3 separate regions of the Homo sapiens genome follow, and regions 2 and 3 are each linked to region 1. The links are contacts of gene promoters, found by promoter capture Hi-C in human tissues and cell types (Jung and others, 2019). All regions are on one chromosome and are shown on one strand. The core of a region is centred on a gene start or on the middle of the fragment in contact, and the rest is flanking DNA. Distances in the headings are between cores, read along the strand shown. Region 1 overlaps AGO1 (argonaute RISC component 1). Region 2 holds the start of TFAP2E (transcription factor AP-2 epsilon). Region 3 holds the start of PSMB2 (proteasome 20S subunit beta 2).

Region 1 (3,570 bases), core at 641-3,140:
AATCTCAAGGTCGGGGTATTTTTCAAGTCTCAAAAATTATCTTTTTACAAAAAAATCAGAGTAAGAACTCATTTCTTGTCATTGCCCAAAGCTGATTCTCTTGCTTTTTATTTCTTGAATGGCATAAGCCACGTCAAAGGGCTAAAAATGCATTTCAAGCCCCAGCTGAAAACCAACTGGAGAGAGTGAGGCAAAGAGAGAAAAGGAGAGAACACAAACTTGTTGCTGGGAGTAGAGGCTGCCACCTGCTCCCTATGGACATTTGCAAATGCTGGTGAATGACTGGACCCTCCAGGAATAGTGCCCTGATCCTAGCCCCAAAATGTATCCAAGTGGAGAACATGCAGAGCCCACTGTCCCAGGAGAACTCCCCTCCCCAAAGGGTGACAGAACACGAAGTAGACTGTATATGAAGGCAATGGACAGGGCAGATGGAGTGTTAGCATCACTCTCTTTAGGCACTTGTGTAAGGAATGTAGGCTCTCCAGTGAGCTGCCTCCTCCCAGAGCCCTCCATTCTGTTCTTCAGCTGGGCTTGTGCCTATAGGGCACCCCATGCTGTAGCCAGCAGGAAAAAAGTAAAGGAGGAGTTACTCAACAGTCCTGATGCTTTCTCCATAATGAATGTTTGTGCTACGTTTTGTGAGTTGCTGAACAATGTAGCCAACCAGAACAGAACCTGGGATAGATTGTTTTGCATAGCAAATCCGGGTCATACAAGGGCAGCTAAGGGGAGGAAATGGTAGTTCTAACTCTACAGGCCAGGATTTAGACCCTTCTTCCTCCAGCTGGCCTCCAAGCCTGGGCTAGGTCTAAAGTAATCATGGCTTCATCACCAGATCAGGATAGATCCAAGCCCAGGCTCCTCAAAGAGGAAATTCCACACTGAAGTTGCAACTCCCCATCCCAAGCAGTGGGGCAGGAAAAAAATGAACAGTCAAGGAAAAAGGGCAGGGGGGATGCTTGCTTCAAGGCCAACAGAGACCAAGCTAGAACCACCACCTTCTCCAGTCCTGCAAGACAGCCAAACCCCATGTCTCAAGACAAAAAAAAAAAAAAAAAAAAGTCCATGCCACCCACCCACATGCCCTAGTGGGAAACCAGGAAAAATTCATTTTTGTAAACAGAAGCAATAGGGAGCAGCAAAATTCCCCAGCCTGTCCACAGGACACACTGCAATCTAGGATGAGCCAAAGGGTCAGAGGACAGTCCAGGGGAAGGAAAAAGATGCACTTGCAAGAAAGAGTGCAGGACAGTGCAGAGGAGGGAGGCTATAGCAAGAAAAAGGTATTATCTGCACAGAGGAAGGATGGAGCCTGGACCCCATCTTGGGGCGATAACCACCCCCTCCCTACCTAGCCAGGTCAGAGAACAAATCAGGTACACAGTTCATTCTGATGGCTCAATGTTTCTGGGATATAAACTCATCAGGCATGGGAAGGATTTCCAAATTTTGGCAATACACTCAAGTTATGGTATAAAAATAACATTTTGTTTTCTCTCTTTTTTCTCATTTTAGACCTAAGAGTTTTTTGTTATAAGACACCCCAGTTAAGAAATATTGAAACATAAGAGACTTGACCATCAAGGGAGAAAAGAAGCCAAGAGTGAAAAATGCTATGAAAGTAACTCCAGACCTGGGCGGGGCGGGAGGTAGGAGGAATAAGGAGAAAAGGAGGCATAAGTGGAAAGGCCAGGGGCCTGTCATCTCAGCAGCTCCGAGACTTGTCATGTTTGAAAGTGCAAATGTCAATGGATTTTAACCATCTTGAGGTTGTGATCTTTTAAAAAGCTCAATGAATGAGGAAGTCAATTCCTTCAAATGCAAAATAGCTGGCTTTCTGGCTGGAGGTTTGTTGGGTCTGGGGTATTTCTTCCCCATCTACCTCCTCTCCCACCCCCACCCCATTCCCCAAAGAAAGGTACAAAAGGTTGCAGTTCTGCAGCATTACCGTTACAGGGAAGGCACTGGTTACCCACCAGCGGGCGGAAGGAAGACAGGGTCGTGTCACTTCAAAGCTAAGTGCCATAGTGCCTTAAGTATTACTAGGGGCTGGATGTCTGTCAGGGAGGAGAAGTAAGGTGGGGCAGAAAATGTGGACAGAGAGGAATAAGGGTAAGGTGGGGGGTGGCAGCTGGGGGAGGAGCAACCAAAACCATTAAAAAATCTTCCTACAAACTGGATTCTGAACCCATTAAAACATCTAGTATCCTAAAATATTGATCTGGGTCTGGTTTCATTTTTCTTCTTAAACAAATCTAGTCCTTTTCTGATTAAGGCTCCTAAAAAATCCTTCCCTCCTCCCACCCACTTTCTCAAGCCCCTCACTTTCCCATCTAAAGTATCAAACCCAAACCTAACCAGCTTTTGTCTGCAGGGCTACAGAGTTGACCTTACCAAGCTGTCAAGCATGAGTCTTTAGCACTGTGAGTCACATGAGACACCTGTGTGTATGGTGGGCACCAGTGCTGCCCCTTTTGGTCCAGTGGGGTCAGGGCCAGATGTGACAAGATGGGGTGAGGGGTGGGGGACATGAGGTTGATATCAGAGATTTCTGGCTGGTGGTCTGTCTTGCTGGCCCTGTTCCCCACTCTTACACCACCTCTATAGAAGGAAACAAGGCATCCTACACTCCTCCCTACCCCACCTCCCTCCTCCTTGCTTCCTCTGGATTTGGGTGGCACAGCTCCTGGGGCTTGGAAAGCTTTCTTCTATCCAGTGAGGTAACAGCGTTCTGCCTTCAAGCGAAGTACATGGTGCGCAGAGTATCCTGGTGAACCTGCACGGCTTTGGCCAGGGCCTGGGGGTCCCGCCCATTGCTCTGCCCCGATATGTGGCTCCCCTCTCCACTGAAAAGGAAAAAATGAAAGAAGTCCTTCCTGGTGAACTGAGAGCTGCTGCTAATTCCCTCGCCCAGCCCTGGGATGCCAATTCCCATACCAACTTAAGAGAGAAACCCAACCCAGGATTGGGCAGACGAGCCCAATGACACCAAATTGGACAGCACTCATTTCCTTCTACCCAAGGAAAGTTAAGAAGATCTGGCACAATAGGCTGAAGCAAAAAGGAGGCCAACCTGATCCCAGGCCTCACCTGTCATGCTCCTTGTCCACCAGGTGGTATCGTGCCCGGAAAGCCACCAGGCGGGCATAGTAGGCAGGTGCTGGGATAGAGACAGAGCGTGTGCATCGTACGTAAGTGTGGCACAGCTGGTACGTCAGGATCTGGAGCTCATCTGCTGTGAAACGGTTGTCATCCCAAAGAACATAGTAATGGGATGGTCGGCTGGTGCCCTGGGAAGATAGGAAGGTGAGGGGTCCCAGGCTGGGCAGAGAAGATGGCTGATAATAGGGGAACAGGATCACTGTTAAGAATATGGCTGGGTAGATAATTCACCCATGAACAGGCAGATGCAAAACTACCAATGTCATAAAGCACTCTTCTTATAAGCAACCTGCAAGTGTACTCAGGGCTTATTACGACAGCAGTCCTGGCCGGGCACAGTGGCTCATGCCTGTAATCCCAGCACTTTGGGAGGCCAAGGTGGGTGGATCACTTGAGGTCAGGAGT
Region 2 (3,570 bases), core at 433-2,932, 350 kb after region 1:
TTGATCACGGACTGGTCTAGGAGGCTCATTCCCGGCTCGTCCATTGCCTGCAAATAGCAGAGGGCAGCGGTGAGGGCGCATAAAGCCCTAGCCGCCCATGTCTTCCCAAGCCCCTGCCACCCAGGGTCTCTGTCTGCTCCGCCCAAGGCGCACCAGCTTCGCTTGGGGCGGCGACGGGCAGGCCCAGGAATCGCTATGTCCAGGCACTGAGCTGGAGCCCTGGGCATCTCACTGTGCAGTGCAAAAAGGGAATTTTGAATCTTACACTGGTAACTATTATGCTTCTCTTCGCCCCAGGTGCAGGCTGCCCCATGGATGCCACACGTGGCAGCGGGGAGAAAAGAAGTGATTCGGTCCCTGCCGAGGGTTGCTGCCACCCACGCACTGCTGGCGGACTCAGTGCCAGGCAGCCTTGATGGCCAGGCAACGTCTAACCCAGGAGGTGGGACACATCCTCGGAGTCACCAGTGAGATGTGGCGAGCTGGGAGAAAAGTCGGCTTCCTGCATTTGTCACCTTCTGCCTCCAGCCATGGTAGTAAACCACCGCGGCCAGTCCCGACCCATCCCGGATCCCTCGGGTCTCACCTGCAGGTCCTCCAGACCGGGGGCCGCCGCCAGCCCCGGAAGGCCGAGAGGTGCGTCTGCCAGGCCGTGCGCGCCGTCGGCCAGGCCGTGCAGGAGCCGGGGCACGGCAGTGGCATAGTCACGGCGCGGGTCAAGGCCCAGGGCGCGGGCGGGCGGTGCCAGCAGGCCGGGAGGCTCCTCGTGGGCGCGGGCGGCTGCGCGGGGCGCGGCCCAGGCGGCCTGAGGAGGCTGCGGCTGCGCCAGGGGCGCCAGGCCGCCATATGGGTCCCCTGCCAGGTGGGGAAAGGCTGCGGCGGCGTCGGGCGCCTGACCGTAGGGCAGCGGTGGCTGCGGGTAGGGCGGCGGGAAGTAGGGCGGCTGGAATTCGGCGGCAGCTGTGGCGGCCGGCGTGTGGCAGAGCGGGGGCGCCGGCCCGTAGGCCGCCTGGGGCAGAGACGACAGGCGGGCCCCGCCGGCAGCTGCTCCCAGCCCGTCGGGGCGCTCCTGGGGAAGGAGAGGGGTGCCTTAGGTGACCCACTGGCAGCTGAAAGGACCCCAGCCTGAAAGGATCCTCCTCAGCTCGGGAGGGTTCAGCTGCAGTCCCTCCCGTTTCTTGGGGCCCGAGGTTTATTTCCGAGCCACCCGCGGGCGCAGGAGCCTCAGGCTGGGGACAGCGGTCACTTGCGCATCGCGTTCTCAGCTGGCGAAGTCCCTGCGGCCCCCTCCCTCCGAGATTTCGTTAGCGCGGGACAGGAGGGTTGGAAAGTCCAGCACTCAGGCGCCCCGATCCCCCGGCCGAATATGTCCCGGGCCCGAGACTACTCACCATGGCGGAGTAGGTGTGCACCAGCATGGGGCGGTGAGTGCCGGGCGCGAGGCGTGGCGGCGGCGGAGCCCTAGCCCGACGGCGAGCGCTGCGGGCAGAGGCGCCGGGAGCCGGCACAGCCCGCGGAGGTCACGGTGCGGTAGCTGGGTGCGACCCAGCCGGGATCCTAGTGGGCGTGGGGTCCTCAGCGGTGGCCGTTCCCGGGCGGGTCCATGGAGGCAGGACGGACGGGCACTGATCGCACTTGGAAAAGTCGGTCAACGGGTGCCCAGCGCCCGCCCTTCCTCCTCTGAGCGTAGCCTGCTCCATGCACTCCAGTTATAGTGGCGGGGGCGCGCCGGGCCTCCGGGGGCGCGCATTAAAGAGACAAGCTATGGCAGTTCTCTCCCTTTTCCCCAGCGGCTGCCACAGGGGAGGCAGTGGCTTTGGCGGGATCGGGTAGGGTGGGTAGGGGGCGTGAATTCAGCCCACATTGATCAGAGCCGCCTTCTGGGCTCGCAGCTCGCAGCTGCAGTGAAACAGAAATATTCGAGGCTGGGACGCAAGGGCCCTACATTTGCCTGGCTCTATCACATCCTTGCCTTTAAGCAAAGCACTATTCTTCGCTGGCCTCAGCTTCCTCGGTAAAATAGGTATCAATCCTTTCTCTAAGCACCTCAAGAGACTTTGGATGAGGTGGGTAATCGGGAACGTGGAAGAAGTTTGTGAGCTGAAGACTCCAGCCTATCTGCTCATGCGCACACAGTGTCAGTGCGTGTGTTTAGGGGGTCTACCATCACAGTCTTTCCTGAATGGTTCTGGATCAAAATCCCTCGAAGGTGCCCACTTCGCTCTCAGGCTTCCTGGGCTGAAAACTTCCAAGCCAAGCCAGGCTCTGAGGGAGTTGGAGACAGAAGCTGGCCAGACAGAGAGAGAGACTTGCCTGGGATGGGTTTGGGTATGAGCTCCACCTGACAAGGGGCCAAGATATTTCTGAAGCCACAGGGTCCTGGGCTGATTGAGTGTGGGCATGAGATACCCAGAGACTGTTGAGTGACTGTGTGTAACTGACTAGCATGGATGCCGTGTGATTGTTACACTAACATGCGCAGGCTACATGTTCCTGTGTTACCATGGCAGGCACTCCCTGGCTGTCAAGCAAGTTCCAGTCTCTGTAGTCACTCTCTCTTTCTCCCCAAACCCAACCCTCCCCTCCTGACAAGCAGAGACAGGGATTAAAGATGGACAAATGAGAGGAATGCTAAGGAGAACAGGAATTAAGAAAGCAGAAGAAAGATGTTTTTTAAAAGCAAGATGTGCAGACCAGGGCAAAGTAGAAATAATCACAGCAGACTTATTACAGAATGTGCCAGCCTCTGTGCAAAGTGCTTCACGAATATTGGGTTCTTTAACCCTCACAGCAGCTCTATGAAAGAGATACCCATATCATCCCCATTTTCAGGGGAGGGGTGAGGCATGGAGAGGTTAAATGGCTTGCCCAAGGTCAAGCAGCTAAGTGGCAGAGCTGGGGTGATCTGCCCCTGGCCCCTCTCTGCTCAGAATCACTATTCTCTACTGCCTCAGACTCAGGGGCTTGGATTTAGTCCTGACTCTGCCTAACTGTGTGATCCTAGCTACATCCCGTTTCCTCTGTGATCTCAGTTTCTGCAACTTCGACAACACCAATAAAAAAGTAGGGGAAGGCAGAGAAGACTAGTTGTTTTTTTAGGTCCCTTTTTAGTGAAGTAGTAAATGAGAAGATTAAGGTAAAATTATTGATATAGAAGAGGAGGTGATAGTGACACCATTAACTCATGGAATATATGGTTCCAAGTGGGTATCCCAGAAGGCACATGGCAGGTGCAGAGCTCAGGGCTGGATGATCTCAGCCTGGGGAGTGGTGGGGAAAGAAGGAGGCTAGAAGCCAAGGATTCATCATTAAGAACTTTCTGAAGTCTGGAACCGCCAGCGAGGTTCCAGAGGATGAAGCGGAATTGGGAAGCTTTGCAACTTTCCTGCTCGAGATGGGTCAGAGATCAGGATTGTGTTTGTGTGTATCTATATATGAGGGAGTCTGTGGCAATGCCCTGTTCCTCCCTCCCTCAACCCCAGCCACAGGGCATCAGAAGTCAAGCTCCAGGACAGGTGTCAGTGCGTGAATAGAAATTGATGAACTCCTCTGGGAGAAGTCTAGGAGCCG
Region 3 (3,570 bases), core at 275-2,774, 280 kb after region 1:
GGTTATGCATATTTAACAGATATTAAAATTGTTCTCTATAAAAAGGTTGTACAACTTAGAACCTTACCCCCAATTTATACTTTCTCATTGTTTCTTATTTCCCATTTTCCTAATTACCATCAAGGTTGAGGATCTTTTCATGTTTATTGGCCATTCGTGTTGCTTCTTTTGTGAATTGTTTTTCTTAGTCTTTGGTCTTTTTTTATTTTTTATTTTTTTTTTTGAGATGGAGTCTCTCTGTTGCACAGGCTGGAGTGGAGGGGCGCTATCTCGGCTCACTGCAATCTCCGCCTCCTAGGTTCAAGCAATTCTCCTGCTTCAGCCTCCGGAGTAGTACAGGCGCCTGCCACCACGCCCAACTAATTTTTTGTATTTTTAGTAGGGACGGGGTTTCACCATATTGGCCAGGCTGTTCTCGAACTCCCGACCTCTTGATCCGCCCCCGTGCCCTGCCGGGTCTTTTAAAAATGGTATTGTCTCACCCGGCTCCCCTCCCATTGGTTTGTAGGAATATCTTTTAAGTTATAGATATTAACTTTTTCCTTTCTTCTGTCTATAAGGTCCAAAATAGTAACTATTTCTACAATTGAAACATTCCCAATTTACATTTACTGTTGAGCATGATAATGACTTTCACCACATAGAGACGTGTAATTTTAGGTAGTCAAATCTGTCAAGTCTTTTCTCATATTGCTTCTGGGTTCCCTGTCAAGCTTAGAAACACATCTCTTCCAAAAATTACAGAAATATTTTTCTACTTTTTCTTCCATGTTTGTATCTCTCTCCCTCTCTTTTTTTTTTTTTTTTTTTTTTTTTTTTTTTTTTTTTTTTTTTTGAGACGGAGTTTCGCTTTTGTTGCCCAGGCTGGAGTGCTCACCGCAACCTCCGCCTCCAGGGATCAAGCGATTCTCTGTCTCAGCCTCCAGAGTAGCTGGGATTACAGGCATGCGCCACCACGCCCAGCTAATTTTGTATTTTTAGTAGAGACGGGGTTTCTCCATATTGGTCAGGCTGGTCTCGAACTCCCAAGCTCAGGTGATCCGCCTGCCTTGGCCTCCCAAAGTGCTGGGATTACAGGCGTGAGCCACTGCGCCCGGCCATGCTTATATCTTTAATCCAACCATATACTATTTTTGTGAAGGATGGAAGTAAGGCTCCCCTCAAGTTAATTTTTCTCCAATCTGGCTTGCAGGAAAGGGGTTTCTGGGGAGATTTTACCGAGCAACGTAGGGAAACGGCTGCCTGGCTACCTACCCCTTTTTGACACCCACACGTGCTCGGCACCTTACATACACTGCGTGATTTTATCCTAAAGCCACTTTTAAAATCTTAGTGTGTAAACAGAGAAACTGGGCGTCACATAAGGCAAGTGACCTGCACAGCCTGCTCCGGAGGAGACCCGTACGATCCCAGAGACAAGCACTGAACATAAGGCACCCGGCGCCGCGCCCGCTTTGCAACCTCTCGCGACAGTTGTACGTCATCCGAGAGCGCCGTGGAAGTCGTGCTGCAGGCGTCGCGCCAATCTTCGCTCTGAGGTGCTGTCTCACCGGTGAGACCTGGAAGCGGGCGAGTCTCGTGCTGTGTCGGACCTGCAGCCCCTGGCCTTCCGCCACCATGGAGTACCTCATCGGTATCCAAGGCCCCGACTATGTTCTTGTCGCCTCCGACCGGGTGGCCGCCAGCAATATTGTCCAGATGAAGGACGGTGAGAGGAAGCAGGGGAGGCCCGGCCAGGCCTGGGGTGTAGGAGCGGCCAGAAGGAGTTTGTCGGGGGTTGAATAAGTACCAGGGAGGATCTGAGAGATGGAAGCCGGCCTGCCCTGCCCGTACTTATTTTATTTATTTATTTATTTTTTCGAGAGGGGTTTCGCTCTTGTTGTCCAGGCCGGAGTGCAATGGCGCGATCTCGGCTTAGCACAGTCTTTGTCTCCCGGGTTCAAGCGATTCTCGTGCCTCAGCCTCCCGAGTAGCTGGGAACAGATATGCGCCACCACGCCTGGCTAATTTTTGTATTATTAGTAGAGATGTGGATTTCTCCATATTGGTCAGGCTGGTCTCGAACTCCCGACCTCAGGAGATCCGCCCGTCTCGGCCTTCCAAAGTGCTGGGATTACAGGCGAAACAGGCAGACAGGTCTGGGACCTTGGCATTTGCTCCTCCAGGGCTCCTGGGTCAGTGCTCTGCTCTGGCCTTCGCTAAATGCTTCTTGCTTGGTGAGAGTTGCCTAAAGGGAATCAGTTTATAAATGTTTAAGCGCCTGCCCAGAGCCTGGCTCTCTAGATCCCCGAATCTCTGATAAGTTTCCTGGTGTCGCTAGTAATGAGGTTAGTTTGTTGGCGGCATAAGGTGGGATCCTGAGGAGAGTGAGACTGTGGGACTGGCTCTCTAGATCCCCGAATCTCTGATAAGTTTCCTGGTGTCGCTAGTAATGAGGTTAGTTTGTTGGCGGCATAAGGTGGGATCCTGGGGAGAGTGAGACTGTGGGACCAGAAGCTTGGCATTTTCCTTCTTCCCGTGGCTCCCGATTCTTCTTTTCCAGTTTTCCAGAGCAATGGCTGCCAGGTTTTCCTTATATTTAAGTAGTTAATGGAGTTAAGAGATTGGAGCCCTGTCATTTATTTGCCTTATGAGTTTGTATAAGTTATTTTGCAGTGCCCAGATTTCCTCATCTTTAAGATTAGCAATACCAAACTCACAAACTTGTCGGGAGGATTTAGTAAATGAGTTATGTGCAAATCCTTAGCACTAGGCAGGTACTTAATAATACTAAGTGTACGTAGGTGCCCAAACATATTTGTCAAATGACCATTAAGTCATCTGAACCAAAGCTTAATACTTTTTCAACAGTAGCACGTCTTTGATCAGTTAAGGAAAACAAACTTAGATTCTGCAGAAAAACAACCAAAATCTTCTTAAAATTATGTATTGAGTAATTTAGTATAGATAGTATAGTATAGTATAGTATAGTATAGTATAGTATAGTATATTATAGTACTTAGGGGCAAAATGTCTGGACTCACTGCATAGGTTGAACCCAGGTTCTGCCACTTGTGACCTTAAGCAAATTTCTCTAACTCCGTGCCCTAGAGCTAACATCTATAAGGTGGTAATGTAATAGCACCTATCTCAAAAGGTTAATGAATTAATGTAAATCACTTAACATAGCACCTTATACTTTATGAAATTCTATGATTAGTTTGTAGAAGTTTTGTTTGTAAGCCAGTCCTTCCAAAGGAGTGAATTTGTTTTGAGAGTAAATTTGTCCATTATTTTGAATACTAAGGTCTTTGACAAGCAAGTGATTTTAACATTAAGTCATGTCTAGGTAGAACAATAATCATTATCTTTACAGGTCTTTTGTTTCATCCCAAATGTATGTGAAATCACATTGAAAAGTAGAATGTGCTTTAAGCCTACTTATGTACACAGTACTTTTAGTCATTATAGGGGATGCAGTATATTACTTATAACCCATAGAAGAGTCCAAGACATTAAGAAAACAAGGAAATAAATGCTGCAAGATGATTTTATATAATAAAAGAAGTATTACTAGTTAGTAGTAGGTTG

The links. Contacts are between HindIII fragments. The study calls those that stand out against the background at their distance.
Region 2: the fragment with the promoter of TFAP2E here is called in contact with a fragment that was not itself captured in region 1 in 1 of the 25 tissues and cell types used here (adrenal gland).
Region 3: the fragment with the promoter of PSMB2 here is called in contact with a fragment that was not itself captured in region 1 in 1 of the 25 tissues and cell types used here (mesenchymal stem cells).

Annotation. Positions count from the first base shown.
Region 1 is chr1:35,918,778-35,922,347 of GRCh38, reverse strand. It overlaps AGO1 (argonaute RISC component 1), which reads right to left. Exons shown (of 19, transcript NM_012199.5): 18 at 3,094-3,293; 19 at 1-2,849. The coding sequence ends at 2,741. Among named protein-coding and RNA genes, the nearest start is that of AGO3, 11 kb to the left of the region's middle. The HindIII fragment of the contact is 4,306 bases long and covers 1-3,570 here.
Region 2 is chr1:35,571,426-35,574,995 of GRCh38, reverse strand. It overlaps TFAP2E (transcription factor AP-2 epsilon), which reads right to left and starts at 1,682. Exons shown (of 7, transcript NM_178548.4): 1 at 1,392-1,682; 2 at 587-1,069; 3 at 1-47. The coding sequence starts at 1,418. It overlaps TFAP2E-AS1 (TFAP2E antisense RNA 1), which reads left to right. Exons shown (of 3, transcript NR_183387.1): 2 at 298-636. RefSeq lists enhancers at 231-977, 1,219-1,718. The HindIII fragment of the contact is 7,667 bases long and covers 1-3,570 here.
Region 3 is chr1:35,639,480-35,643,049 of GRCh38, reverse strand. PSMB2 (proteasome 20S subunit beta 2) reads left to right here and starts at 1,524. Exons shown (of 6, transcript NM_002794.5): 1 at 1,524-1,708. The coding sequence starts at 1,618. RefSeq lists enhancers at 619-1,583, 1,336-1,795, 1,584-2,549. The HindIII fragment of the contact is 3,605 bases long and covers 1-2,664 here.